Regions from separate parts of the Homo sapiens genome. Here regions 2, 3, 4, 5, 6 and 7 are each linked to region 1. Evidence: promoter capture Hi-C in 16 types of primary human blood cells and fetal thymus (Javierre and others, 2016). All regions are on one chromosome and are shown on one strand. The core of a region is centred on a gene start or on the middle of the fragment in contact, and the rest is flanking DNA. Distances in the headings are between cores, read along the strand shown. Region 1 holds the start of DST (dystonin). Region 2 overlaps RAB23 (RAB23, member RAS oncogene family). Region 3 overlaps DST (dystonin). Region 4 overlaps BAG2 (BAG cochaperone 2). Region 5 overlaps ZNF451 (zinc finger protein 451). Region 6 overlaps ZNF451 (zinc finger protein 451). Region 7 overlaps ZNF451 (zinc finger protein 451).

Region 1 (3,807 bases), core at 505-3,004:
TGCAACATGTCAACAATTCGAATGTTTATTTTGTTTAAGGAAACCAGCTGTAAACAAAACGTATCTGTTGTTTTCCATGCTTATGAATCTGGCACTAAGAGACTGCATTAACCAATGCCTTTTTAGGTTTAATACTTACACACGGTAATATGTTACTGGCTTTAAGGACATCAATGATTAAGCTTTCATGCAGAGCTGTACGGTTTTGTATAGTTGGAAAACAACACTGATTTTGAGATCACTACAAGCAAATAAAACTTTTATTCCTCCCAATTATTTACCTGCTTTTCAAATTTTTATAAATTTTTATGACACAATTTCTTCAGTCTATTAAATATTCCAAAAAAGAGGCTAATACAGTTGTTATAAGAAACTCCGCAAATGCAGTCAAGTGTTACCTTGTCACTATAATTAAAGTTTTCTTATGCGAGTAAATGAAACAAACAATCCAGCCCCACACAGGGAAAGCCAGCATTGCCTTGGGGGCAGCAGAACGCGGCACAGCACCGCCCGCCAAGGCCGCAAGATGCCGCAGAATGACTGCTGCAGCAGCCGCTTCCTGGCCAGGTGGCCGTGGCCGTCCGCAGAAAGGCACACTGCAGCGCTCTCGCTATACCTTCCGTGCTGGCATTGCATCAGTGTTAAATCCCCTGGCCACCAACTGCCATATACTTTTTGCTGGTTATGAAGAAACGTGGGGAGGGGACAAAGGGGAGACAGAGTGTGCCTGCAAGTGTGAGAGATCACTATTGCCTCACACTCCCTAAAAAATTTCTCCCCCAAATGTTTATAAGCCAAGTACCAACTTACTTCATCTGCCAGGTCCCTAAATCTGAAATCGCCTTGCCCTTCAAATGCACTAAATGAGTCAGGGTTTTAGGGCAAACCCAGGGATACAAGAAGATCGAAAGTGCCCAATTCTTAGCTGCGAGATAAGCACCAAGTTTGGGGTGGAAGAGTTCACCTCTGCCGACCAGAGCGTACTACCCCGGAGCGCTCCTAGTTTAGAGAGGCTTGGAGAGGAGTGGGCCTCCCGTTCCTGGAGTATCCCAATTCCCAGGGAAGGCCCTTCCCGGCGCTCGCGCTTCAGAGTGCGAGGAAACCCCCACAAGCAATAGCTCACCCGGCTGCATTCTTCAAAGCCCCAACCTCGGGGCGGGGCGCAGGGAGGTGGGAGGTGGAGGGTAGCACCGCCGGGAGGCTCCTGTCAGCGCCTCTCGGTTTTCCCCCTGGCTCCTTGGCGCCCCCTGACGACGGGCTCCGCAGCAATTTGGCCGAGGGAGGCTGGATAGGCGGAAGCTCCGGGTGTCCGGGAAGCTAGAGGCACCCGGCCAATGCACCCGCGGACGGCGCGGACTGGCGGGCGGCCCCGCGGGAGGGCGCTGGGCTCTCAGGCCCGGGTGCAGCCCGCGGACGCCGCCGAAACCGCCGCAGCCATGTCCGCGCGCCCGCGCTGCCGCAGCCTGGCCGTGATGTCATCAGCCGAGCCCCCGCCGCGGCGCCCCATTCCCGCCCCCCGCAGGCTGCCGCGGCTGCAGCCTGAGCGCCGCGTCCCCGCCCCGACCCACGTGCGCCCGGCTTCTGGGATGCTGAGGTCGGCGGCGGCCGCAGGACGATGCGCGGGGCCCGGGCGGCCGCGGCGGCGGCGCTGCTCCTCCCCACTCGCCGCGTCCCCGGCGGGGCTGCGCCCGGGGGCTGCGCACGGACGGGGGCGGGGGCGCCTGGGGAGGGAGGGGAGAGGATCCCAGCCGCCGAGTCGCAGCCTCGTCGCTGTCTGCTGAGTCATGGCAAGCGCTCCCCGCAGCCCTGGATCACTCGCGTAGCGCGGCTGGCGCGGGGTGCGCAGCCATTGGGCTGGGCGCGGGGCCGCGAGCGCCAGGCATGACGCGCTGAGCCGCGCTCACCCGTGCCCGCCGTCCCGGCGTGCGCCCAGCGCGGGTGCCTGTGCCGCCGCCCTCCAGCCCCGCCGTCGAGTCGCCCTCGCCTCGCCCGCACCATGATCGCCGCGGCTTTCCTCGTCTTGCTGAGACCCTACAGCATCCAATGTGCCCTCTTCCTCTTGTTGCTTCTGCTGGGCACCATCGCCACCATCGTCTTCTTCTGCTGCTGGCACCGCAAGCTCCAGAAAGGGAGGCATCCGATGAAATCGGTCTTCTCGGGTCGTTCAAGAAGCCGAGGTAAGACACGCCGCGACGGGTTTCTGCGGGCTACCAGGAACAATTAAGCCGATTTGGAGAGTGAAGCGCGGCTCGCTCCCTTCTCCTCGGCTGCCCCTAGCCCCATCATTGCCCACTCCCCAGGCTGAGTGCGTTTCTTTAACGCCCCTTGCCCTTTTTGCCGTCACCTCCGCCCTCCAGTCTCCCAGGTTTGAATAACCACGGCGATGCCGAGGGCAGGGAGGGGAGGAAAGAACTCAAATTTTTAGTCAGTTTGCTAAAGCCTTAAGGGTAATTTGAGCGTAGTCCGGGGCTGCGCCAGCCTCGCCTTCACGCATCCTTCGCTGGAGCGTAGGGGTAAGAAAGTAAGGCATGGAAACTTCGGGGCTCCCCAACTCCCCCAGAACTTTCATGCAAACTTCTCGCGGAGAAATCACGTAGAGACCGATGGCCCCAGGACTCCTCCTCCCTCCCCCAGGATGTCCCACCGAATTCCAGGAGTCTGCGATGTGCTTTCCCAACCCTGGTCTCCCAGGTAAGTCATGAGTCACTCGGTAGGTGAAGAACAAGGAGTTAAATGAAGTCTCATTTATCTCTTTTCTCCCCAGATGCTGTTTTGAGATCGCACCACTTTCGTTCTGAGGTAATTTATTTAGCGCGCACGCTCAAGGTCAGAAGAAGTTCTCTTTCCTGAGTACCAATATTAATTATATGCGTGTTAAGAAACCAGTAGGACACTGAATGACGAACATGCTGTCCCCTAGCCGAAAGTGGCATGTTTCCTTTTAAGTGATTTCATATTAGTGCCCAGCGAACGGTTTTAGCAAATTTCTTGTGTAGTGGAGCTGTTGTACAAGAGGGGAAAAGGCAAACCCTAAAAGTGCTGCAGACCTTAAAAAACTTAGCCACAGGGTGGATGTCACTTGAGTTTACAGTTTATATTTTGCTGGTGGAAGTGTTTTCTGGGTGCTGTCAGTTGACTCTGGTTGTTCACTTGGATAAACGAAGAGGTTAGTGCAGAACAATTTGATCCATATGCATTTCATTTTCGATTTTCAAGTTTACATTTCTGTTTTCTCCTAAAGCTCTCCATGTTTTATTGGGGACCATCTGATGATTTTTGCAAAGCGATGATGGTAGTGTGTGCTTAAATGCTTGTGCTAGTCTCCACTCTCAAAACGTGGACCATCCCTCTAGGGCAAGTAACTCCTAATCACTGCACCCAGGAACCAGCTCCACTGAAGAAACACAAGCGCTCCTTGACCTAGGATTTCTTTAGGAGTTTTCAGGCCAACCTCCACTTATCCTAAGATAATTTCCCCTCTTTTTAGGAAAGTTGCACGCCGCCAGGCTTGGAGGTTGCTGCTTGGTGCAGTTTACTCATGTTGGCAAAGACTTCATAGTTAAACGCCCTCCATTTACCTGAAGTTATCTTGCCTTTCATTTCATTAGTTAATCAGATATTTTATGCCACCCTAGATGTTTTATTGGGTTCTAGTTGCTTAAAAACTTTAACTGTATTATTGCAATATCATTAAAATGTTGCACAAAGAGTAATTCTACTGTATATAGCCCTGGAAGGTGAGAACTCTATTCAGTTTAGGATTCTTGAGAGGATAAGTGAGGTAATCAGAGGTTCCATTCCTGGCTT
Region 2 (3,807 bases), core at 374-2,873, 250 kb before region 1:
CTGAACTTTTCACCGTGTTGTAATTAAAACTTGTTTTCTAAAGACACAACTTCCTCTGCTGCCTTCTCTAAGGGAGGCTTTTTACCCATATCCCTGCATACTCACATTCCTCAAGACTTAAAGGCTGTTCGGCAGAGGTTGTCTTGTTTCTCACTGCTGCTTCCACACCATTCCTCCTCTTTTCTCCTTCCAAAACCTCGGCACCTTGAAAGTCCAGGTCATGAGACTTTTACCCACCACTAATCCCCCTGCTTGCTCTGGTCCATCAACTTCCTTTATGCCTCCTTTCTGATAACAGTGGCATCTGACTCAGTTTCTTCTCCATAATTGTTTGGATTACTTTTTGAAAATTCAGCCTGTTGCTCATTTCCTTGTTGTTTTCAAGGCCAACAATTGTTTCATTACCCCAAAATCTAAACCTCTATAGTCTCCTACTCCCTGACCACTACTGGTGGCTTGTGGCTTGCTAACTTTAATATCCAGACGCTGTCTTGAAACCATCGAGAGCTTCTCTGTTCATTGACCCTACCACTTTTTAAATATGACCTTCCACATGGCTTTACTTCTTTCCTTCTTCAGCTTAGTTTTTCTAGTCCTGTAAGCATTTGCTTGCAAGGACCTTTAACTCCCAGACCTGCGCTCTCTGCATAATACTTGCTCAGCAAAATGCCCAACCCAGTTAAACCCGACTATCTACCAATCTGCATCCGAGCACCTGAACCATATAGAGAATATCAGACAACCATTCAGACTGAACTTTGAAGCTAACATCACATAACCTTAATGAGTACATAGTGCTGCCAGGCACTCTCAGTGTTTTTTACTCAAGTCTCTGTCATTTTCCAAAAGAGCTCTTTTGTGTTTTCTCTTGCCTTAACTTTGGGAATCCCTTCCTCCTCTCCACTCTGCTGATTTCTTTGCTTCACTCTTCTTTGAGAAAATAGTCAGTGAAAACCATTTTATCCTTCCCACTACCAAATCACTTTCGTGGTTAAAACTCTTCAGCATCATATACACAGGACTTTACAACTGTGTTTCCCCTCGTCTGTCCAGCATCATCTGCTGATTCCTCACTTGTACTTCACCCTTGAGAAATCCCCCATTTTTTTCTTTTCTTTTTACACTATGCCTGGAATGCTTTCTTGTCTCTCTTGACCTTTTGCCTTCAGGTTTAACATCTCAGAAGTCTCTGTGAAACTTTCTGTGGCCCTCATCCCTGAACAGTTAATAATTTTTTTTAGCTAATTCAGTATGTTTATTGCATTTATCACTCTATGTAGCATTTGCATATTTATTTTCCCTAAGAGATTATGAGTTACTTTAGCTTCTGGCTTATGGAGTGGCAGGGTTTTTTGTCTTTGTCTCCCCAGCCCCATTGCGTAGCACCTGTTGGCTCAAGTGAATTCAGTTGACCTTAGGAGACAGTATCATTTTGGTTAATTTTTTTATAAAGTGAAATTCTGCTCGTTCATCACACAGTCTCATTTTACTTATCAGATGCTATAACTTTATACTCTGACCTTAAGTAATGGATGAAATTTTATTTTTATATATATATACACACACACATACATACACACACACATATATACACACACTTAATATATGTGTATGTATGTAATATGTATATATGTAATTAATATAGTGTGTATATATGTGTGTATATAAAGTATATATGTATAGATGTGTATATATACACACAGTGTATATATATTTATAAATGCAAATATATGTATATGTATATATACACATATTTATAAACAGATGTATATATACACATATACATATATGTATGTATCTATGTAAACATGTCTGTACATATGTACACATATGTATGTGTATGTGTATATACACATATATCTATATTTATAAATATAAATGATTTCACTTAAAGGTATTTGCTCTCTGAACTAGAAGCCCCAGGAAAGTAGGATCTACCTTGTTTATAGTTGCCCCCATGACTGTTTCTCTAGATTTGAAGTTTTATTCAGAAAATGTGTATTAAGTGTCTCTGTTGTTCTAGGGATATAATAGGCATAGTAAACCTTGCCCTGGCTTCTTTGTCTTAACTTGTATTTATATTCATGTAATAACATTGCTTAGAAATATATCTGAAAAGTTTCCTTTAAGCTAATTATCTTTTTTACTTCTTAAATCTTTTGTTTTCTGCTTTTAAATCTACTCTTTGGTATCATAAAAATTAAAATATATTCTATCTTAGTATGTAGAATGCTAGTAGTTGAATACTAAACAGTCCCAAACAACAGATGATATGGAAGCAGTTATGAATTATTTTTTCAAAGTCTCTTTAAACATCCTGTATTGAAAGATACAGGTTTAATGAAACTGAAATAATAGTTATGTATACAATGGAAATTCTTCTGACTTCTTCATGGAAGTCTTCTTTAATGTGTCACTTTACCCAATTTGAAAGGGAACCTATGTTTGTGTGTCCTGGATTATCAGAGAAGCAGTACTTGAAAATAGAATAGATATATTGAATAGCAGTATACCAGTATGTGTCTCTTGAAGAAATCTATATATATGAAAGTTCCAAGTGACAGTGTTAATGAACTTTTAGGTACAGTATCATATAAACACATAATTTCTTCTTTTAGACAGGATTTACCACTGATTTTATTGAAGTAGCTTGCTTATTTACAAACTTACACCAGTTATATAAAATCGATATACTTGAGAAATTGGGTGAATTCATGTAACTTTTGAATATATAGCTTATTTTTTTCGCTTTTGAAAATGTAGGATTTATTGTAATAATGACAACTAAGGTTTCATGATTGTACTAACATACAAATGACCAAAGAAGTTGCCTTTCTAAATTGGTACCAAGGAAACTTGACTTCCACTGCCTGCTCTAAAACATATTTTGGTTTCTTGCCACCACTACTTACCACTCTATTTACTGTGTACTTTAAGGCTTCCCGTCCACAGTAGCTTTGGTTATTCTCTGTGGCTACCAGTTTGGATCCTGAGCACCTGTATCATGGTCTAAGGTTGAGAATTATGTTTTTACTACCCCAAGCCGTTCTTGGAGTAGATGGTATTTTTTTTCTACCCCTCTGTCATTCAAGTAGATGATATTTGTATCAAATTATGAATTTCATCAGCCTTGACAGTATTGATTAACAGGTCCTAAATGTACAGTTTTATTCTTGAGTAAAAGTTATTTGTATTTTTTAATGGGGTTATTACCACTACCTTCCCCACACACTCAGGAAAAAAATAAACATAAAACCTATGTGGAAACACCAGAAAGAAGTAGGATTACTTGAGATTTTCATTATTTTATTTTTATCTAGTGAACTTGGTCTTCTAAATTCTCTGCATGAAATGTCTGTTCTTTTTTTTGAGGAAACAGATAGGCTGGCCTAATCCTTTCTAAGCTTTTGACAGTTTGATGTGGCAGTTATTACTTTTTAACCAATAGGGTTATTTTTAGAGAATATATTTGACATTATGTTTCTATAATTTAAAAAGGCAAAACTGGTTGGGCACAGTGGCTCACGCCTGTAATCCCAGCACTTTGGGAGGCTGCGGCCGGCAGGTCACCTGAGGTCAGGAGTTCGAGACCAGCCTGGCCAATATGGTGAAACCACGTCTCTACTAAAAATACAAAAATTAGCCAGGTGTGGTGGCGCACACCTGTAATCTCAGTACTGGGGAGGCTGAGGCATGAGAATAGCTTGAACCCAGGAGGCAGAGGCTGCAGTGAGCCGAGATCATGCCACTGTACTCCAGCCTGGGTGACAGAGCAAGACTCTGTCTCAAAAAAAAAAAAAAAAAAAA
Region 3 (3,807 bases), core at 813-3,312, 240 kb after region 1:
GACATTATCCAGGAAGTAGATGAAGTTAATTTTTGAGGTTCAGGTAGTTCTTTGATTGTGTGTGTGTGTGTGTTGAGATTATAGGTCAGGCATTGACAACCTATAGCTCATTTGACAAAAGCCCCAAAAGAGATGATTCAGCTCAGAAGTATTCAGGGTAGTTGCCACAACCAGCACTTTAATCAGAATTGCAAAGTAGTTGAAATTTTTATTTGTCACATCCTTATATTCCTTTTCTGATGCTTCTCTTCCCACTCACCAGCTGCCCAGGGTCTTCAGACTGCCTTTTACCTGGAATCATACCATGCCCTGCACTGCAGTGCTACTCCCCTACATGTTATTCCATCTTATCACCAACCATGATTAAGATTTCTTTAAAACCAATGATAGGTAGGTATAAAGAGAAAGTCAGTCTGGTAAAGTGACCTTGTGTTAGAAGCACATGACTTGAGAGGTTGCTGTATCTGTCCCAGGAGCTCTCTTTTTTTGTTGTTGTTTCAAAGACAGAATGCTTTTACTTGAATACATCTCTAAATTTATAATGATCAATTTGAATCTGATTTATGAATTTGGTATAACGTTACAAGAGAGTCATTAGCTGGGAGGATTTGATGAGGAAATACACATTTTTTGAACTAGTGTGAATTTTGATCATGATATAAATTTAAATAAAACTAATTTAAAATTATTTAAAATAACCTTTGCATGATTTTTATTTTAAAGTATTTACAATTCTGTTTTAAAAGCTTTTCAGTAAAAGCTGGAATTTAAAAATATAGTGGAATCTCTTTAAAACAGTGGTGGTAAAGAATAAGACTGTAATGGTGTCATTATAGACTACCTGTGTCAAGCAGACTTTGTTACACCTAGTTATATTTTTTAAGTCATGGCACACAGATGAACTATGTCTAATTAGCTATTAGTATTATAATAGCATTCTACTTCGTTGTCATTATTTGTCTTTATATTACAACCACACATTTTCACTTATTTCCATCAAAATTTTGTTTCCTTGATTAGGTTTTCTCCTTAGACACGTTAAGTGATAATGACCCTTGCTTTCCCAGCTTTTTCTTTCTTTTGCCCAAATTATGAGAAAGTAGGAGGAGTAGGAAAAAGGTGAGCATAGTAAGGATATGGATTGGTTTCTCCTCTTTTCCTTATGCTGGTGTTAAAAATTGCTCTTGACATAGTAGTACTTACCATGATTTTTTTAAGGTGAAAAAGAGTTTAAAGAAAGATTTATATAAGTAATGAGCTAGGAGGATATTTGAAAAACCTGTAAAAGGTAATGCCCATATTCTCCTGCCAAACAGACAGAATACTGGAAAGAAGCATCCTTAGTCTTATCTAAAATACCTCCTCCTATTTTTTTTTTTTTTTTGAGACGGAGTCTCGCTCTGTCGCCCAGGCTGGAGTGCAGTGGCGGGATCTCGGCTCACTGCAAGCTCCGCCTCCCGGGTTCACGCCATTCTCCTGCCTCAGCCTCCCGAGTAGCTGGGACTACAGGCGCCCGCCACTACGCCCGGCTAATTTTTTGTATTTTTAGTAGAGACGGGGTTTCACCGTTTTAGCCGGGATGGTCTCGATCTCCTGACCTCGTGATCCGCCCGCCTCGGCCTCCCAAAGTGCTGGGATTACAGGCGTGAGCCACCGCGCCCGGCCACCTCCTCCTATTTTTAAAAGATTGCACAATAATATTTATTAGCTGTTCTTCTCTCTCTCATATGTGGAATGGGTAATGCTGATGCCTTTACAAGCCGACGCTCGTTTGTTAGACATTGTAGTGTGGAGTTTGTCAAGAATACATCTTTAATAATCTGTCCAAGGAACTGGACAGATACCAAAAAAGATATACTATGCAGAGTATATTGATTTCTGAATTTATTTCTCCCTTTCAGTTACATTACATTATAATTACCCCACACCAAGATCTGTACAGCTATGCAAGAGATGAAAAATCTACAGGTTCAGGGGAAAATGTGAGCAAAAATAGATTTTTTATCTGTTTTCTTGATAATAAAAGGGAAGATAGGAAAGATAGAGACCTAAACTCAAACCAAACCAGAACCAACCAACCCTAACCTCAGACTGTTACAGAAAAGTTACCTATTTAAAAATATTTAAAAATTGAAATAGCCTTTTAAAAAGGTTACTGCAACCATGGCGAAACTGTATAGAAGAGAATAAAAAATACCTAGGTGAAACAGTGACTAAAATACCCCAAATCTTAAAGTGTTTATCTGTAATATATTAATAAATGTTTTTATTTTATTTAACTACCTAGTTCCACCTTGTGGTGAAAGACTAGGAAAGGCCATTCAGTTTTTGCATTTTAATTGATTATAGATTGTCTACCCAAAAGCTAAAAAGAGAAGCCTTCTTTGTGAAGGAGTGAATCAGGTCCAAAGAAGTAGACACATTATTTGTACCACCTAGTACCAATGTGGATTAAAAAAAAAACTCTCTATTATTTTATCCATTAATACCTTAAGATGTGTAACTAATACCTTTATTTCATAGTTTAAAAATAACCTAAAGGAGATGAATTCTATGTGGCCTTAATGTTGACTTAACGTAGTACCTTAAAAAACCATAACCGCCTTTTTATCATGCCAAATAAGGATATTTCCCTGTTTGACTTAACTGCACCAATTTCGAATTTATAATAATTTAGGTAGAATATGAATTGTAGTTTTATTCTTTCACAACTCCTGAAGAAGTAGTACTGAAATAAATTTGTAATGAAAAAACAACTTTAGATAAGGCAGCTACCTAAGATAATACAATGTTTTTGAGCATTTTTTGTGTGTATTTTAAAAGCATTAATTTTCTTATCAATAATTAATATGTTAATATATTGATATTTATGTTACCTCTATTTTTTCAAGTAGGCTGTCTAAGGAACTCTCCCAGGAGAACCTGACAGCTAATTTTTTATGAACGTACTTGTTTGATGTAAAAAAATTGCATTGAAAAATATTTTAATTTATAATTTTCACTAAAGCAAACTATCCTTCTTCTCGTCACCCAGTTAGTATAAGCCAGTGAGGCGATCTCATTTGGGACAAGCCTTCTTTTATTATTTATGTTTCTTTCTAAAGATAGCTGATTGTTTTCCAGAATACTGTATCCTTTAGATATAGAACTTCTTTAAGAGCGGACTGTGAACCCTTTATGTGGCTGATGTTTTGCTCCCTACTGCAGAGCTCACTAGGATGCCTGCATTTTACCCAAGGTTCATTAATGGAATGACTCTTCCAGTTTCCTTTTTTTCCTGAGGGACCTTTCCTCTATTATTGTGTACAGATTGGGCTCTTGATTTTACCTGTGATTGATTTGTTTTTGCTTAAGATAATAGTTTACAGGGAAGCTTTTATATTGGTCAGAGATATTATGGCCTCATTCTGTTTAAAATTCGTAGTTTTCTTTGTGTAGGAAAAGTTCAAGCTTCTTAACCTGGGATATAAAGCCTCTATGTCCACCGGCGCATCGTTCCAGCCTCATCTTCCACCTCATGCTTCATTGACTTCACCACTGCTTTCCTTCCTTGCAACTCATATGTAGTTTTGTGTGTCCTTGCCTTTTTCCTTTGTTCTTGCTCCTCCCTCCACCTGCAACATTCCCATCTTCTTTGCTGGGAAGACCTCAGACTGGGTTAAGCTCCTCATAGCTTCCTGAGTGTTCTCTGAATGCATTTATTTTATACTGCAATTTCTTGCCTAAATTTCTTTCATTTCAGATTACAGGCTTCAAGAGGTGGCACTCTTATTATTCATCTTTGTACCCATAGAACTTAAAGGATAC
Region 4 (3,807 bases), core at 694-3,193, 230 kb before region 1:
GATTGTTCCACAACATTACAAATGTATTTAATACCACTGAACCGTATGCCTAAAAATGGTTAAGATGCTAAATTTTGTTGGATTTTACTACAATTTTAGAGAAACTGTAAATACTTGAAAATATTACTGATTTTACTAACAAGCTGGATGCAACAGGTAACTCAGGCGTGTCAGTGGCAATCACTCTTTTCCCTCAATTTATACAGGTGTCTTTAATACATCTGGTGGAAGTCACTCCGGTCAGAATTCAGGTACCCTCAATGGTGGAGATGTCATCAATCTTAGACCCAACAAACAAAGGACCAAGAAAAACAGAAATCCTTTTAGCAGCTGTAGCATACCCTAAGATGTTTTGGGAGGAAAACAATTGAATTACATTGTGCAATGCATTAAGAAACCCATCCAGCTGTCATGGTATGTTACAAGGTTTTCAGCAGACTTTGCTCCTAATGGCTCTCTGAAAGTGACAGACTTAAATATTGCTCTGCAGTGCTTTTCAGAATGTAGAGTGAGACCTCTGGTGGAAAAATTATTGCCCTGTGGACTCCTTTAATTTTTTTTACATTAGACGAAGCTTCTCCTGTTTGTAAAGGAATGCTATAAGAAATTTCAAACACAGGTTTTGCGGAATTTTAAATGCTGGAAAACATAAATGAAATGCCTAAATATATTGTTACAGATTTTAATACTGTGGATCAAGGAAAGATAGCAAGCATTCTTTTCCTGAAATTGGTCATGTAGCTTTTCTGCGAAATAGTATTGAATCTGAATACTTTCACAAAATAATACTGAAAGGTAAACCCTAAATCTTGCCAGACTGCATTAGTATTTTGGCATTGAAACTTGTGCAATATCTGTGTAATGTAGAATGTGGGGTGTGCATGCAGATGTCTGGTACTGGAGTAAGCTGAAGGTATGTGCAGTATTTAAGAAAATGTACATTCTAATTAATTCACTTATAAAACCATTTACATATTGTGTATATGTTTTTATTTTCAAATGATAAACTCTAGACATATATTTTGCAAAATGAGCTTGGGTTTAAAAAGTGCTTTGTGCCAAAAATATCATACCTAATTTTTATAGTGCTTTACTATCAGAATTTATATTGTTTATTATATCTTTTAAAAGCAGTAAGCAGTTTTCATCTGACAGCGTAGATAAAAGAGGAGTATAGGAATTTGAATGCTAGAGCATCTCCCAGGTGAGCCTTATTGCAGATCTTTTTGATATAGTCACCCATAAGCATGGTGAGCTCCTGCTCTCATAAGGTCAGCCAAAGCCCCTTAAGAAGGTACACAGCACATCTGCAGTCATTCAGGAGGTCCTGTGAAGTGTGGTGATGCATCTAACACCTTTTGCTGCTCACTGAGAACCCAGCTTTGAACTTACAAGATTACACTAACCATTTTTAAAGTGCACAAAAATATTATTATTAGTCTTAACTAAAATTACATATTTTATAATGCCCTGCAACTCTAAACCATCCTTTTGTTTACACATTTTTGTATGGTATTTTAAGATTATCAATCACTTCAACATTTCTATAACCTTGTTTGTATAGCACTTTCTCAAGAGCTGTCAGTCCCACATACAGAATCATTTCTTTTACAAAATGATTTAATATGTAATCATGTGTCAGGACATAAATTTTGTCACTTGGGACAGTAGCTTTCCAGCTAAGATAATTGCGTGAACTCTGTTAAAACTGATTATCACTCATCAATGGCTTTATTTTTAACCTATAAATAACCCCTTTCAATATACCTGGTTTTTACAGCATTGCAAAATCTGTAAAAATAACTTTTATTGGAAAATGTCATGAAGTCATTTTTCATTATTTGTACTAAACAATGTTTTATGTACTCCTTTTGTGTTTTATCTTTTGTTTTTCCATCTGTACTCCCCTCATCCTCCTAATGTTGAGAAAATCAAATTTCCTGGGTGTGTCCTTGTTAAGTGATCAAAAGTAAATGTTCTCTTTGCCATTTTAGATGGAAAAATAAAAAAAATTAAAAAGTAAATTTTTGCTTTTCATTATATTGAAATGATCTGGCATTATCTATTTCACAGTAATGTAAAATGCTTATTTTTATGTCACCAGTTGTCACCACTCCCATTGCTGATAGTGACATAGGTTTTGGGGGCAAAATTCAGTTCCTAACAAACAGTGGATACTGCTAATGAGTCATCTTTTCTACTCTCTTCAATTTTCTACTCTCTACTCTCCTCTTTAATTTTTGCACAAAATAATACTTTGCAACAAATAGTCTTTTGTCTTTATTGGCAGAAAAATCACTTGTTATATGTGTTCTAGTTAGTTCTTTTTCATGTTAGCTGTGTGGCTAAAAGCGTGTTACCTTTCTATATTTAAAAAAAGTAATCTCTGAGGATAGTTACAGTTCCTGTAATATAATTTTATGTACCTAGTTTTATCTTTTTTTAAATAAGAACTGAAGAGAGAGCTTTGTTACATATTTGAATTTTTAATTTGCACTGCTGTATTTTAAACCTAACCATAATTAGTCATTTAAAATAATTAAGTAGGCCTGAAAGTCAGCCATGTTAATTTCTCAATTTAATCAATTCTTAAAGCCTTCAAAAATTGACATTTTTTTTCCAAGACCCTTCATTCTCTTAAATAACTTTAATTTTATGAAACCATGTATACTAAAGAAAAACTTTTCCAAGATTCCAGGTGATTGTGCATTTGTGCTCTAATCTACTTTTTTAACATTACGGCTAATCTTTTGCGTAGACATATCGCTGTGGAATAACTGCCATATTTCAGAGTTCCTCAGGTTTCCTTTTCCTTTTCCAGTCTCTGTCTATGAATTAAATAGTATATAGAATGACCCATATAAGGCAATATAGTTAAATAAAACCAGGTTAAATGATTTCCTTTGTATCTGCCCAAAGTTGATAGCACACGTTACTTTTTCAAAATAAAGCTAAAACTACCAAAAAGAGGATGAAAACTTTTTCCTCATTATGGAGTGAAGTTCTAGGTGGTTGCTTTAGAAGTTGGCAGTGCAGTGCTCAGAAGGAACTCTCAATAAATAACATGTACTCCTTGGACCTGTGAGTTTTAGGAAACTGGACCTTTTCTGAAGACCTTAGAATAGGGAGTTGGCCTTAGGACCTAATGTCCCAACTTAGTGTTGGACCCTTTTAATATAAGATATTGTTAATTATTAGCATACTTTTCAAAACCTTTGAAATAGTTACTGCTAACCTGATAAAATGTTCCCATTAATCTATCATTAGTCTGTTTCTCTGAAAACAAAATGCATTGATGAGGTGAAAGCTTGTTCCACATGGCACCTACCTAATGAACAGGACTTACTCAGTTTTTAACTGTTAAGAATGTCACATGTACTATTGTCACTCCTTAGGTTTTCAGCTATAAAACATGTAAGTCTCTCATCATACAGATGAATTCATTTGCTAACAAAATATTTAAAACCCGCAGTAGACTCTGAAATATCCAGTCATCAAACTCCTGGCTAACTGGATGATTTGGCTATAATAATCTTTATTATTATTATTTTCATCTGTCTCTCGAAATATCTACAGTAGGATGTTAGTAAATGGTCTTTTAAAAGCAAAAAATTGGGGATAAAAGGAAAACTGAATTCCTTCTATATTTTTATTACTAATAAATAATGCTTTTGTAAATTTGAATGGAAAACCACTTGTATGTATTGCTATTTGGTTGCAGTTACACTCTGGAGCTTAATTTAAAACACTACTCTAAAAATTTCATGAAGGATGAATTCCAATAATCAGAAAATAAATGCATTTCAA
Region 5 (3,807 bases), core at 913-3,412, 210 kb before region 1:
ATTTTAAGATGATTTTTAATTATTTAACAAGTAGAAATACGATCAGTGACAATTATCAATTAAAACATTAAACAACCCAGTTACCTTTTCTTAACAGTCATGATGAAATATCCCTTTCCTGTCTTATCAGAAGCCTTAATTATTCTCTACCACACACACCACAAAAGCTTCTTAATAGAGCATCAGTGTCCATCACACCTTTGTGTAGAATCTCTGGCAACAAGGTGCTGTCTCCTCTTGCCCTGCCCCCACATCTGCTTAACTACTCTTCTTTCTGGAATGCCTCTTTTGCTCCCATTTTGTGAGCTCCTGCAGATGTGTTTAAGGTCCAGCTCAGTGACTACCTCCTAGAGCCTTGCTTGACCACTTAAACATACAAACTAAAAGCACAATGTGGTCATTTCGGAAAGATGATTGATAAATTCTCAAGCCACAATGTCTAGTTTTTAAAAAATGCAAGCAGGGAGGAACAGAAGTGACATATCAAGAAATTAAAAACACAAATTATAGATTGAAAAGACTATAGTAATAAAAAAATTCAATTTCACACTAAAATATTTAGTGTTACAGAGAAGGAACCAAATTCTAGCCTTTATATTTTGTCTTAAATATAAAGAAAAGCTTTATATTTATAGAAATGTTTTTAAGTTTGGTAAATAATTACTACTAAAAATTTTTAGAGATAAGACATTTCTGGTTAAATAACATGAAGCATATACACAAAGATAATATGACAAGCCCTTCTTAGTCTTCTACTTATGTCGTATTTTTTATTACTCACAATGGGGCCTCAATATTTAAGAATTAAATATGTAATACCAAATGAAGGAAACTGACAATTCAGTGAATAACTAAACTGAAAACACTTCACATGAAATAAAAATTTAAAGAGTTAAGGAAGATTATTCCTGAGTAGGCTTTCAACATTATTTCTTGAAGAATATTATGTTTACACCAATATATAAAAAAGGACTGTTATGAAAAATAATTTTATGCAAATATTCTGACACCATTCCCTTTAACCAGGAGACCATACAAGTCACATAAAAGTCTAAGCAGGTAAAAGGAATGGAAATTGTTTCATTTAAATTATTTCTTAAAAATTAAGGTGTATTTTTTATTTTAGCAATGTGCTGCTCTAATTAAAGCAATAATTTACATATGCATGGCACCCACAAAGAACATTGCTGATAAAATTTTAAATGTTTCCATGATCAGTTTCCATTACCCTCTTCTAATAAACATAAACAAAGATCTCAAAGGTATTATATAATAGTGCCACATGAGAAGTAGAATTTATGGAAAACTTGACCTATGTCACCTTTTTTATATTCATTTTCACTGCTAAAAAAATAAACTAGCATCATTTGTACAGTACAAATAAAATTAAAGAACTAATGCTATTTGGGAAACAACTGTCAAGAGCTTTCCTTTTTTTTAATCCTTTAAATCTAAATATATAAATTCAAAGTTAACTGGGAAACTGTTACACCTATATTAGAATACATAATTTATATTTGCATGAACATGTATTCTATTTCTTCTGTACATGTTTGCACATTAGCACAAAAATACAAAACAAAGATCAGATTTTGAACATATGAAAGCAAAAACATGTTTTCAAATACATTTGTAATAGTGGATTTCTGGTCTCCTTTAGAAAACAAACTCAAGAATTCGTTATCTCAGTCTCTTCAAGGCCACTTGATGTTGTGTGGTAATATCTTTAATTACATTTCCTCAAGACTTCTTCTAATAGCTTCTTCTAATTCCACATCTGCATTAAAAAACATAGAATTTTAACACTTAGGGCAGAAAACTCAACATGTGCTGTATTTATTTAAGTTTCATCGACTGTATTCTTTTCAAGAAGGAAAGTAAAATCAAAATGGAAAAACACAGGATAACTTGGCAGTTTCTCTACTAAAAAATTGAGTATTTTGAAATATGAAAATCTAGACATGATCTTGAATTGAATTTTATATATGAACTTAGAACTTGCAAGTTAATTCCACTTAGGAATGTAGAAAGTCAACAAACTTTTAAAATCACTGACAGGTAATCATTTGTTTCAACATTTAAAAAAAAATCTGTATCACTTATTTGCTAAAAGACTTGAGGTGATACATATAAGACTTTAAACAGAAAGGCAACTCCATGAAATGACAAAATGTCACAGGCCATTAAAAATTTAGTTTAATTTTTAATTATACCTCAATAAAGCTGGGGAAAAATTAGCTTAAAGCATCCTAGCATCTAAGGTAGTGAAACTCATAGCCACATAAATGTCATCTGAGAAGCATATAATATATGCTGTATGCAGATGTATGTAAACTCATTTGACAAATATTTATTGAATGCCCATTATATACCAGGAACAGCAATGTAATAGTGAACAAGACAGACGTTATTGGGTTCACAATAGTTGAGTTCCATCTCCTCCTTGGGAATGATGCTAAAATCCAGGAGGGTGAAATTTGGTGTCAATTTCTTGGCCTTCACTAGCTTCTCACACCAGATTTATCTCATCCCATCTGGTCCACAGTCTCTCAGAGGCTACTTGGCTACAGGCACCAGTGATCTCCCTAAGATGCAACCGCATGTTCCTCTGATTGGGGGCACTAGTGTTATGTTGTCTAATTTAAAGTACAATAAACTAGCATGAACTGTGTATCAAGTTAAAGCTACACTCTAGGATCAGTTAGTTGCCCTTAAGATGAATTAAAAGGGATGAGGAAATGCAAAGAAAAGCCAAGACACTCTTACCAAAGAAAAACAAGGGGACAAGACTTGTCTAAGATATGAACACTTATTATAAAGTTACAGTAACTAATAATGTGCTACTAGTGCAAGAATAAATAGACCAAAGGAACAGCATAGACAGCTCAGAAACAGACCCATGCATATATGGACACTGGATTTATAACAAAGGTAGCACTGCAGAATGACAGGGAAAGGTCTTTTTAACAAATGATAGTAGGTTATATGTATATATGTGTGTGTGTGTGTGTGTGTGTATATATATACGAAATCACAACGTCTGTTTTACAATTAAAGTTATAAAAATCTTTGAACTAAAATTCAAAATTTGAAGTATGGTTTATACTAAATGCATATTGCTTTCACATCCTTATAAAGTAAAAAAATCATAAATCAAACCATCATTAAGTACAGCAACATCTATACAAAGATATCATACCTCCAGTGAGCTTATAGGGATTAAACTTGCCAGCTGAAAGACTATAAAAAACAAAAAGCAAGTATGGTCATGTGCTGCGTATCAACTTTTGGTAAACAGTGGATCACATATACAACAGTGGTCCCATAAGATTATAATAGACCTGAAAAATTCCTATTGCCTAATTATGTCATAGCCATCTTCATGTTGCAGTGCAACATATTACTCATGTGTTTGTGGTGATGCTGCTGTAAACAAATACACTATGTTGCCAGTTGTATAAAAGTACAGCACATACAATTATGTACAGTACATAACACTTGAAAATTATAATAAACTCTGGTACTGGTTTATGTATTTACTATACTTTTTATTATTATTTTAGAGGGTACTGCTACTTATAAAAGTGATATTGATGATCCTGACTCTGTGCAGGTCTAAGCTAATATATATGTGTTTGTGTCTTAGTTTTTAACAAAAAAGTTTTAAAAGTAATAAAACAATTTAAAAGTAGGGAAAAGCTTATAGAATAAGGATATAAAGAAAATATTTCTCTATAGCTGTACAAAGTGTTTGTGTTTTAAGTGTTATTACAATAGAGACAAAAAGTTAAAAATTTTAAAGTTTAT
Region 6 (3,807 bases), core at 926-3,425, 190 kb before region 1:
TAGGCAAAATCAAAAGCAATGTGTGTAAAAATTCTTTGAATGGCATTATTCTATAAGTGTAAGCATAAGTGGTTTTTACAGATGTCACCACCGTTCAATGCAGAAATGATGGGCAATCACCAAAGCTCAACTTACTAAAGCAATTATACTGGCTAACTTATCCAGGTCAGTATGTTTCTATCTTTAATCCCAATCTTTCTCTTTACATGCTATTTCCTATCAAACACAAACAATAGCAGATTCTCTGTAAACCAAAGAAGCCTCTCCCCCAAGTTTGGTCAACAATTTGTAAAGAGGTTTAGATGAAGCTGAACACTTAAGAACAGCAAGGATGAACCGAAGAGGCAGTTATGGCATGTTGAAAATAACATTAGTCCTATAGCTGAGAGGCCAAATAATTCTGCTATTTATTAGTTTTAAAACTTTGAGGGAAAAAAAACAAAAACAAAAACAAAACATCTGCTTCTTTGTATTTTAAAAGGGATAAAACCATAATAATCAGTAACCATGTTAGTACAAAGCCAAAGCACCTGACACATTTTAGGTGTTGAATAAAGGCTTTTTCAATCTGTATCAAAAGATCCATAAACTTTTTTTTTTTTTTTTTTTTTTTTTTAAGACAGAGTCTCACTCTGTTGCCCAGGCTGGAGAGCAGTGGTGCGATCTCAGCTCACTGCAAGCTTCGCCTCCTGGGTTCACACCATTCTCCTGCCTCAGCCTCCCAAGGAGCTGGGACTACAGGGGCCCGCCACCACGCCCAGCTAATTTTTTGTATTTTTTTTTTCTTTTTAGTAGAGACGGGGTTTCACCATGTTAGCCAGGATGGTCTCGATCTTCTGACCTCGTGATCCGTCCGCCTCAGCCTTCCAAAGTTCTGGGATTACAGACGTGAGCCACCGCGCCCGGCCAAAAGATCCATAAACTTTGAGTCACCAGATAGAGCTAACATTTACCACAGAGGCATGTAAAGAAAACGATTCTAGCAGAGTAACTATAATACAAAAGAACAATATTCCAATTATGTTCCTATGTTCTATCCAGGAAGGTTTAAGAGGAGCCTTTTAAACTGAACTATATTCTAAGAGGTGGGAAAAAGTTTTCTTTTGTTTTTCTTATTAACCGTACCTTGAAAGCCCCAAATAAATGTTCCTTGGTTTAGATGCCCTGGTAGATGACCAAAAAAGTTTGACCAGTTATCAAAATCTACAAAGACTATATGAGTCATGGTTCGCAGGTAATCCAAATCTGGAAGCTCAACAATTTCTTCCTCTGAGAAGAGAGAAATATCAACATGAGTTCAGTAAGAATTTGCTAAAATCATTCTGATTTCAAGTCCAAAAAGTATTAGAAGCCTAATATGCAAAAATACTAACCTTGAATGTTACTCATTTCTATCTAAACCTTTTTGTGAAATCCAAATCTGTACATGACACCATTTACACTTAAATCAGATAAAAATAATCTGAACATTTCACCAATTTTGGTTATATATCCTTCTTGCAAACATTTTCTTCCAACAACTCTAAAGCTTGTTAAAAAGTCACTTATACAAGGAATTTTTTTAAAAAATTAATGTACTAGAAGAACTAGAAAACCAAGTTTTAAGGTTAAATAAGCAAAAACTAATACCACCCATATAAAATTCCAAGGTTACCTATTAAGAACATTTTCACCACCAGAATTTGGTTCTTTTCCCAGTCTGGACTGATTTATTAGTAGCCCTCTAGTTCTAGGATTAAACACCCTAGAGAGCAGAAATAAGATAACCTAGAATCCTGCTGCCATAAAGCAGTGCTAGAAATATGTGCCAGTGGTACAGAGACACCTCCCCCTATAAACACATCTTCTTGGTTCTCTCAGATTCTTCTTTCACCTTCCCCCATGCCCCAACTCTCATTCTCCCTCCCCTTTATCTTGTTTCATACTTTTCCACTTTGACAAGGCCTTAAAGTTTCCTGTGGTAACAATGCAAACTTTAAAATGTTATATTATTTAAAAAATGAATAGTTTCTATTCTAATAGTTCCTTCAAATATACTACTGCCATTCCCTTCCATTTCCAAGCCACCTTACGTCTTTTCTCTAACTTCTCGGTAATTCTAGATTTAGGTATTGCATTTTCTATCAAACACAGACTAACACAAATTCCAAAAAAAAAGTAAACAGAAGCGCAAAAGAAAGGCCTAACATAAAATGGTGTAACCAGTGTTTCACTGTTTAGAGTTGACTAGGTAGCTCATGATTTAATTCTTTACCACTGAAAACATGCCATGACTAAAGGTGATGTTGAAATCTACATATGGTATAGAGCAAGACTCTAAAAATTCAATAGTTCATAAAAATACATTACTGGCCAAAATTTTCACATATTCTCACTGTACCCAAATATGCTACATTGTATAACTCACCAAGAATTAGTATTTATTTAAAAGAATATAGACTTAAGTCAGGTGTGGTGGCTCACACCTGTAATCCCAACACTTGGGGAGGCTAAAACAGGAGGATTGCTTAAGGCCAGGAGTTCAAAACCAGCCTGGGCAACATAGTAAAATCCCATCTCAAAAAAATTTTACAAATAAAAGAAGATACACTTAAAATTATACTCTAAACAAAAACAAATTATACTTCTAAACAAAACAAATTATACTTCTAAACAAAATAAAAACATAACACCTGCCTAGACTTACTTAATCCTATCATATGGAAGAAAGAAAGTCTGGAGTAAGTACAAACAAGGAATTCATATTTCAATTTTCCCCCTGGTTTCCTGCTACCACTTTAACTCTACTTCTAATTGCTATTTTAATTGTATGTTAAAGCTTTTCTTCCAAGTTAATCATAACAAAAATATACAAATGCTGAAATGACCTTTAAAATGTCTCACACTAAAGAATATGGCCAAATAGAAACAAAAAGAATTCACGTGATTTATCTTTTTAGTTAACCCAAATATTACAAGAAAAATCTAAATGATATTAATACTAGGATAACTTTGAAATCTAACTTTCAGAAAAACTATCAACTTCCTTCATCTTCAAAATCTCCACACCTTTTGTAAAATAAAATGATATCTAAAATATATATTATTTAAAGCCAACATATACTCTGTCCTCGTAAGTTTAGAAAGTGGATAAATGTAGTAGTAGGAATACAAACCCCTAAAATGTATATACCATAATAATTAACATACCATCAAGAAGTTACCCTGTTTCTTGCTTCAAAATTGAATCGAGGTGGGTACATTGTAAGTTTCAATATCAGTATATGAAATTTGCATAGAGCTATAAAGCCATACCTATATTCTGATAGCTTAGGTCATTCTCAACTCCTTTCTCCATGTCTAAACTTTTTGAATAGTTTATTGCCTGTTTCAGTTTTCTCTCTGTATGTGAGGCACTAGCAGTAAACTTGTACAGGTTTGATTTTTCAGATCCAAAATGAGCCACACTGGGTTTCTGTAAGAAGCAATGTTTTCTATGGAAATGCTGCTGTGCACTCTCAGGATCATGAAATGCTTTGGTGCAGGTGCCACACTTGATTACATACTGCTGCTCCTCCTCATCACTCTTTTCTTTGTGCACTTGATGGATATGAGTGTTCATGTCGGTTAAATTCTGTGCTGTTGCCGAACATAAACTGCAGCGAAACCACAGTTTTCCTTTATCCAGCATGATTTGGAGACATCTGCTATAATCTTCTTTTCTGTTGACTTTACAGATGTAACTCTCACGGCAACCACAAGTTAACTGGTTACTGGTCTCTATTACTGGAAAATCATCTTCGGTTTTAATTGAAGTTTCAGTTTTTT
Region 7 (3,807 bases), core at 626-3,125, 170 kb before region 1:
TAGCTATAAATAGTGGCTCTGGATAAAAATAAAGTTGGAGAAGCCAATTTCTGGGTGGAGGGGTGGGGAGGCTTCCCCATGGAAAGGCAAAATACAGAGATTTAAACAGCTTTTGTCTTAAATAATACAGACAGCATTTTTAAAAATTATAATACTAAGTATTCAAATTTATGCAAACTGGCCAACTCTAAAAACCCATAAAGAATGGATTGTCCAACATTAGAATAATTATAAATAAGGTACTTAAAATACTTCTAATGAAAGAACTGAATTATAACAGCTGAGTACTGTATTTTGAAATAGATTGAATGAGTCCTTTAATGCTACTGAGAAGTAGAATCTCACTCTCTATAATTAAAGAGAACTGTGATTCCTCTCTATTCCCCAGCTATATGCTCTTAAAGGATCTCAGCACTCTCTAAAGCCCATTTATGGAATAGCACCATACCAAATATAGCCCAATACTACACAGCTGTTCAAGCAATAGATTCCAAACTTTATTTTTACATTGCCTCAGAGACCAAGCAAAAAGCTGAGCCCATCACACAAAAAAGATCATAACTACAGACCTTAACTCCAGGCTTAAGCTTATCAGCCATCAAAAAGCCAGTACTGAAAGGCAGAGAAAACACTAATCTTGAAAGTACCATAAAGACACAGCTAAATAACTCATTTGATCCCACTTGACCTGCTCAGGGAAATACATAAACAGATGCTCAAGATTCATTTTACAATGCATTATAATATTCTGACAACCTGGAGGCCAGATATTAAGCTTGAAGGGCATATTACTGGCCCGACTACCATTCTGTATAGGACTTGAAAGTGTCAGACTCATGAGATAATTTTTAGAAGAGATCTAGAGATGATAAAGTCTTCTAGTTCTAGTCCATTTTCCTATCCACCTAGGGATCTTTCCCAAAAGTACAGATGCCCTAGAAGAATCTCTGGAGATAATAAGGTGTAGGCATCTGTTTAAAAGGTCCCAGAATATTCTGACGCAGCAAAGATGACACCACTGAGCTAGTCATTAACTTCTTCCACTGAGAAGAATGTACATGAAGAGGGATTTTTAAAACTAAAAGCTTTCAAAAAACACCCCAAGAGGCAAAACCATTTACCATATTTTCTATGTGTCTTTTGCCAAAGTAGATCTGGAGTGCCATATAATTTTTTTGTTTAATAACAGTCAGATTTGGAGCCCAAGTTCTAGGCTTCCTTTCTGTGTTCATTATGCAAATATTTATAGCCTACCTCTATAAAAATTCAACCAACATTTATTGAGTATCTCTATGTTGAGCATTCTTTTAAGGAACTGACGCTAAAAAGTATTAGTAAGATTTGGTCTTTGTGCCCAAGAAGCACATAGCTGGGTGGAAGAGACAGACATATAAACGGATCAATCGAACATAATAAATACTGTATTAGTGAAATGAATAAAGTATTGAGATCACAGATGGCTGAGCAACCAAACTTATATAGAATAAATCTAGATAAGCTTCTCACATAATTGGACATGATATACAATAACCATATTCACTCAGCAATCCCTAATACTGTATTATTTGTTGGCCACGTATAAACCCCACAGGCAAGTAAGAAGAAAACAAAGAAAAAAGGTTTTTGGGGGCAGGAGGGGAGTTTGCGAGGCACAGGCAGGTTGATAAGGAGAAAATATAGTTTCAGGGGGTGCCAAGTGTCTAAAACATCGATTATGTCAGGTATCAAATGGAATGAACTGCTAAATACCAATACATGTAAATTATTAGAATTCTTTTATAAGTGGCAATTTGATTCCATTCAAAGCAAAGCCCTTGAAAACTAACTTTAGAATCCAAGATACCTAGGTTCAACAAAGTTAAGCATTGCATGCATAGATATTTCCATGAACTTTTGTAATTAAACTTTGTTGGATTAAATCCACAGCTACAGTTTCTGTGGATATCCTAACTCTTTAAAGGCTCAGTAGATATTCTTCAAGACAAGACAGGAAAGTTGTCATGGTGGGACTCTCCTACTGGCTCTTAAAAATTCCACCAAATTATCCGGTGGAGTAAGACATGTTCCACAGCAACTCTTCAAGGAATCTCAGATCTGCAAAGAGTTAGTAACGAAGAAGCTACCCAATGTTTTGACAAGTCTATGAGGATGCTTCCTTATTAAATATCTACATAGGCTGCACTGATGAATAAATAAATAAACATGAATCCTCTAGATCTCAGTTTAAATTCCATTTCCTTAGAGAAGCTTTTTCTGACCTCAAATAATCTGTTACACACCTCCCATGGACATATGTGCTACTTCATGCAATAACTATTAAATATATAAATGAATAAATGAGTAATATCTAATGAGCTCAGGTACGACCTATATTGCTTATACTCAAATATACTTGTGCCAAAGAAGAAAGACAATGGGCAAAGCAGGCCATTATAAAGTAGGCCATTATGAGGTGATATTAGTATCACTGAAACAAAATTTAATATCTTATATGCTTATTAGCAATAGCATAAAACAGACGTACTTTCTGCCTTAAGGCTTTGGGGAAGCTAGGTAACCTTAGTGTAATTTCTAAAGAATACCTGGCATTTTTAGCCACTGGTCCACACACAGTCTTGCTGCTTCTGTATCAGAATGTCCTCGAATAAATTCCAATTCTTGTAACCCATGAGCATGCTGAAAATCAATTTTTTCCTGAAGACATTAAGAAAAAACTCAATTAAGATTACTACCCTGTTTTCCTTGAGAAAAGGATTTTGACACATTAGTGATCAGAAAATACTGATTACTTTTTATCCCCAGAACTCCACATCTAGAAATGTATGACAAAGAAATACATCAAAATAAAAATGCACGCTCTAAGATGTGTATACCAGTGTTATTGCACAAAATTTACTACAACCTACACCCCTAACAACAGGGTATGGTTTAAGTAAATTATGGTATGTACATTTGATGGACGTCATTAAAAACATTAACCAAATTTTTCAAAGGTGTGGAAATATACTTTGGATATCAAGTAGGTCGCCAAACTGTATTAAACAAATGAGGCAAAATATAAACAAAGAATAATTTCAAATCCATGTGCAACTGTATCTGCAGAGGAAAAAAAAGCCTGAAAATAGATGTATTAAAAGTTATTAAGGCTACCTCTAGGAATTTCTATGTAAAGGATTATTTTCATTTTTAAAGTTTTATGTATTGTTTCAAATTTTCCATATTTAATCTGAAACATACAGAAGGAGCCTAGTAAGTATTTGTTCACTGAGTAATATTAATAACATAACTCATTAGCACTTAATATGTGCCAGTGTAAAGCATTTGTTGCCATCTAGACCAAGGGGTAACAAACTTTTCCACAAAGGCTAGTTAATATTTCATTATGGCTTTGCAGGCCATAGACTCTTTACTGCCACTACTCAACTGTGCCATTGTAGCAGGAGAGCAGCCACAGACAATATGTAAACAAGTGAGTGTAGCAGTGTTCCAATAAATCTTTGTTTATAGCAGGCAGCAGGCCAATGACAATGCTGAACTAGATGCTCTGTATTGCTAAAAGCCTAAATCTTTCTAGTTATATTATCCATAAAACTATTTGTGTATTTTCCAATCATGTGTATTAAAATTAATACTTTTTGGCCACTAACCATGTGTGAGGCAGTTTTAAAAAGACTTTAGATTTTAGGTATTATTGTTCCCCTTTTATGATGAAAAACCTGAGGTACACAGAGGTCAAATAAATTGCCCAAGGATATATAATAATGTCAGAATTCAAACTCTGGCAATCTGATTCTAGAATTCATGCCC

What was found. The method cuts DNA at HindIII sites, captures the fragments that hold promoters and counts their contacts. A CHiCAGO score of 5 or more calls a contact.
Region 2: a fragment that was not itself captured here is called in contact with the fragment with the promoter of DST in region 1 in 2 of 17 cell types (erythroblasts and megakaryocytes); the score reaches 7.7 in erythroblasts.
Region 3: a contact is called between a fragment that was not itself captured here and the fragment with the promoter of DST in region 1, in 1 of 17 cell types (endothelial precursors). The highest score is 6.1, in endothelial precursors.
Region 4: a contact is called between a fragment that was not itself captured here and the fragment with the promoter of DST in region 1, in 2 of 17 cell types (megakaryocytes and erythroblasts). The highest score is 7.8, in megakaryocytes.
Region 5: a contact is called between a fragment that was not itself captured here and the fragment with the promoter of DST in region 1, in 3 of 17 cell types (erythroblasts, megakaryocytes and endothelial precursors). The highest score is 11.5, in erythroblasts.
Region 6: a fragment that was not itself captured here is called in contact with the fragment with the promoter of DST in region 1 in 3 of 17 cell types (erythroblasts, megakaryocytes and endothelial precursors); the score reaches 10.4 in erythroblasts.
Region 7: a fragment that was not itself captured here is called in contact with the fragment with the promoter of DST in region 1 in 2 of 17 cell types (erythroblasts and megakaryocytes); the score reaches 9.1 in erythroblasts.

Annotation. Positions count from the first base shown.
Region 1 is chr6:56,952,777-56,956,583 of GRCh38, reverse strand. It overlaps DST (dystonin), which reads left to right and starts at 1,754. Exons shown (of 104, transcript NM_001374736.1): 1 at 1,754-2,177; 2 at 2,765-2,799. The coding sequence starts at 1,997. BEND6 (BEN domain containing 6) reads right to left here and starts at 1,477. Exons shown (of 7, transcript NM_152731.3): 1 at 1,124-1,477. RefSeq lists a silencer at 1,289-1,978 and an enhancer at 2,140-2,771. The HindIII fragment of the contact is 5,182 bases long and covers 185-3,807 here.
Region 2 is chr6:57,203,005-57,206,811 of GRCh38, reverse strand. The region is part of intron 3 of RAB23 (RAB23, member RAS oncogene family); the gene reads left to right. Among named protein-coding and RNA genes, the nearest start is that of RAB23, 17 kb to the left of the region's middle. The HindIII fragment of the contact is 3,567 bases long and covers 1-3,406 here.
Region 3 is chr6:56,709,668-56,713,474 of GRCh38, reverse strand. The region is part of intron 5 of DST (dystonin); the gene reads left to right. Among named protein-coding and RNA genes, the nearest start is that of DST-AS1, 130 kb to the left of the region's middle. The HindIII fragment of the contact is 2,627 bases long and covers 749-3,375 here.
Region 4 is chr6:57,187,000-57,190,806 of GRCh38, reverse strand. BAG2 (BAG cochaperone 2) reads right to left here. Exons shown (of 3, transcript NM_004282.4): 3 at 974-3,807. RAB23 (RAB23, member RAS oncogene family) reads left to right here. Exons shown (of 7, transcript NM_016277.5): 7 at 207-3,807. The coding sequence ends at 346. Among named protein-coding and RNA genes, the nearest start is that of BAG2, 17 kb to the right of the region's middle. The HindIII fragment of the contact is 2,733 bases long and covers 577-3,309 here.
Region 5 is chr6:57,166,393-57,170,199 of GRCh38, reverse strand. It overlaps ZNF451 (zinc finger protein 451), which reads right to left. Exons shown (of 15, transcript NM_001031623.3): 15 at 1-1,777. The coding sequence ends at 1,731. The region is part of intron 2 of ZNF451-AS1 (ZNF451 regulatory antisense RNA 1); the gene reads left to right. Among named protein-coding and RNA genes, the nearest start is that of ZNF451-AS1, 3.9 kb to the left of the region's middle. The HindIII fragment of the contact is 3,078 bases long and covers 624-3,701 here.
Region 6 is chr6:57,148,181-57,151,987 of GRCh38, reverse strand. It overlaps ZNF451 (zinc finger protein 451), which reads right to left. Exons shown (of 15, transcript NM_001031623.3): 10 at 3,295-3,807; 11 at 1,126-1,269. All of the region lies in intron 2 of ZNF451-AS1 (ZNF451 regulatory antisense RNA 1), which reads left to right. Among named protein-coding and RNA genes, the nearest start is that of ZNF451-AS1, 22 kb to the left of the region's middle. The HindIII fragment of the contact is 1,290 bases long and covers 1,531-2,820 here.
Region 7 is chr6:57,127,616-57,131,422 of GRCh38, reverse strand. ZNF451 (zinc finger protein 451) reads right to left here. Exons shown (of 15, transcript NM_001031623.3): 5 at 2,583-2,694. The region is part of intron 2 of ZNF451-AS1 (ZNF451 regulatory antisense RNA 1); the gene reads left to right. Among named protein-coding and RNA genes, the nearest start is that of ZNF451, 39 kb to the right of the region's middle. The HindIII fragment of the contact is 749 bases long and covers 1,501-2,249 here.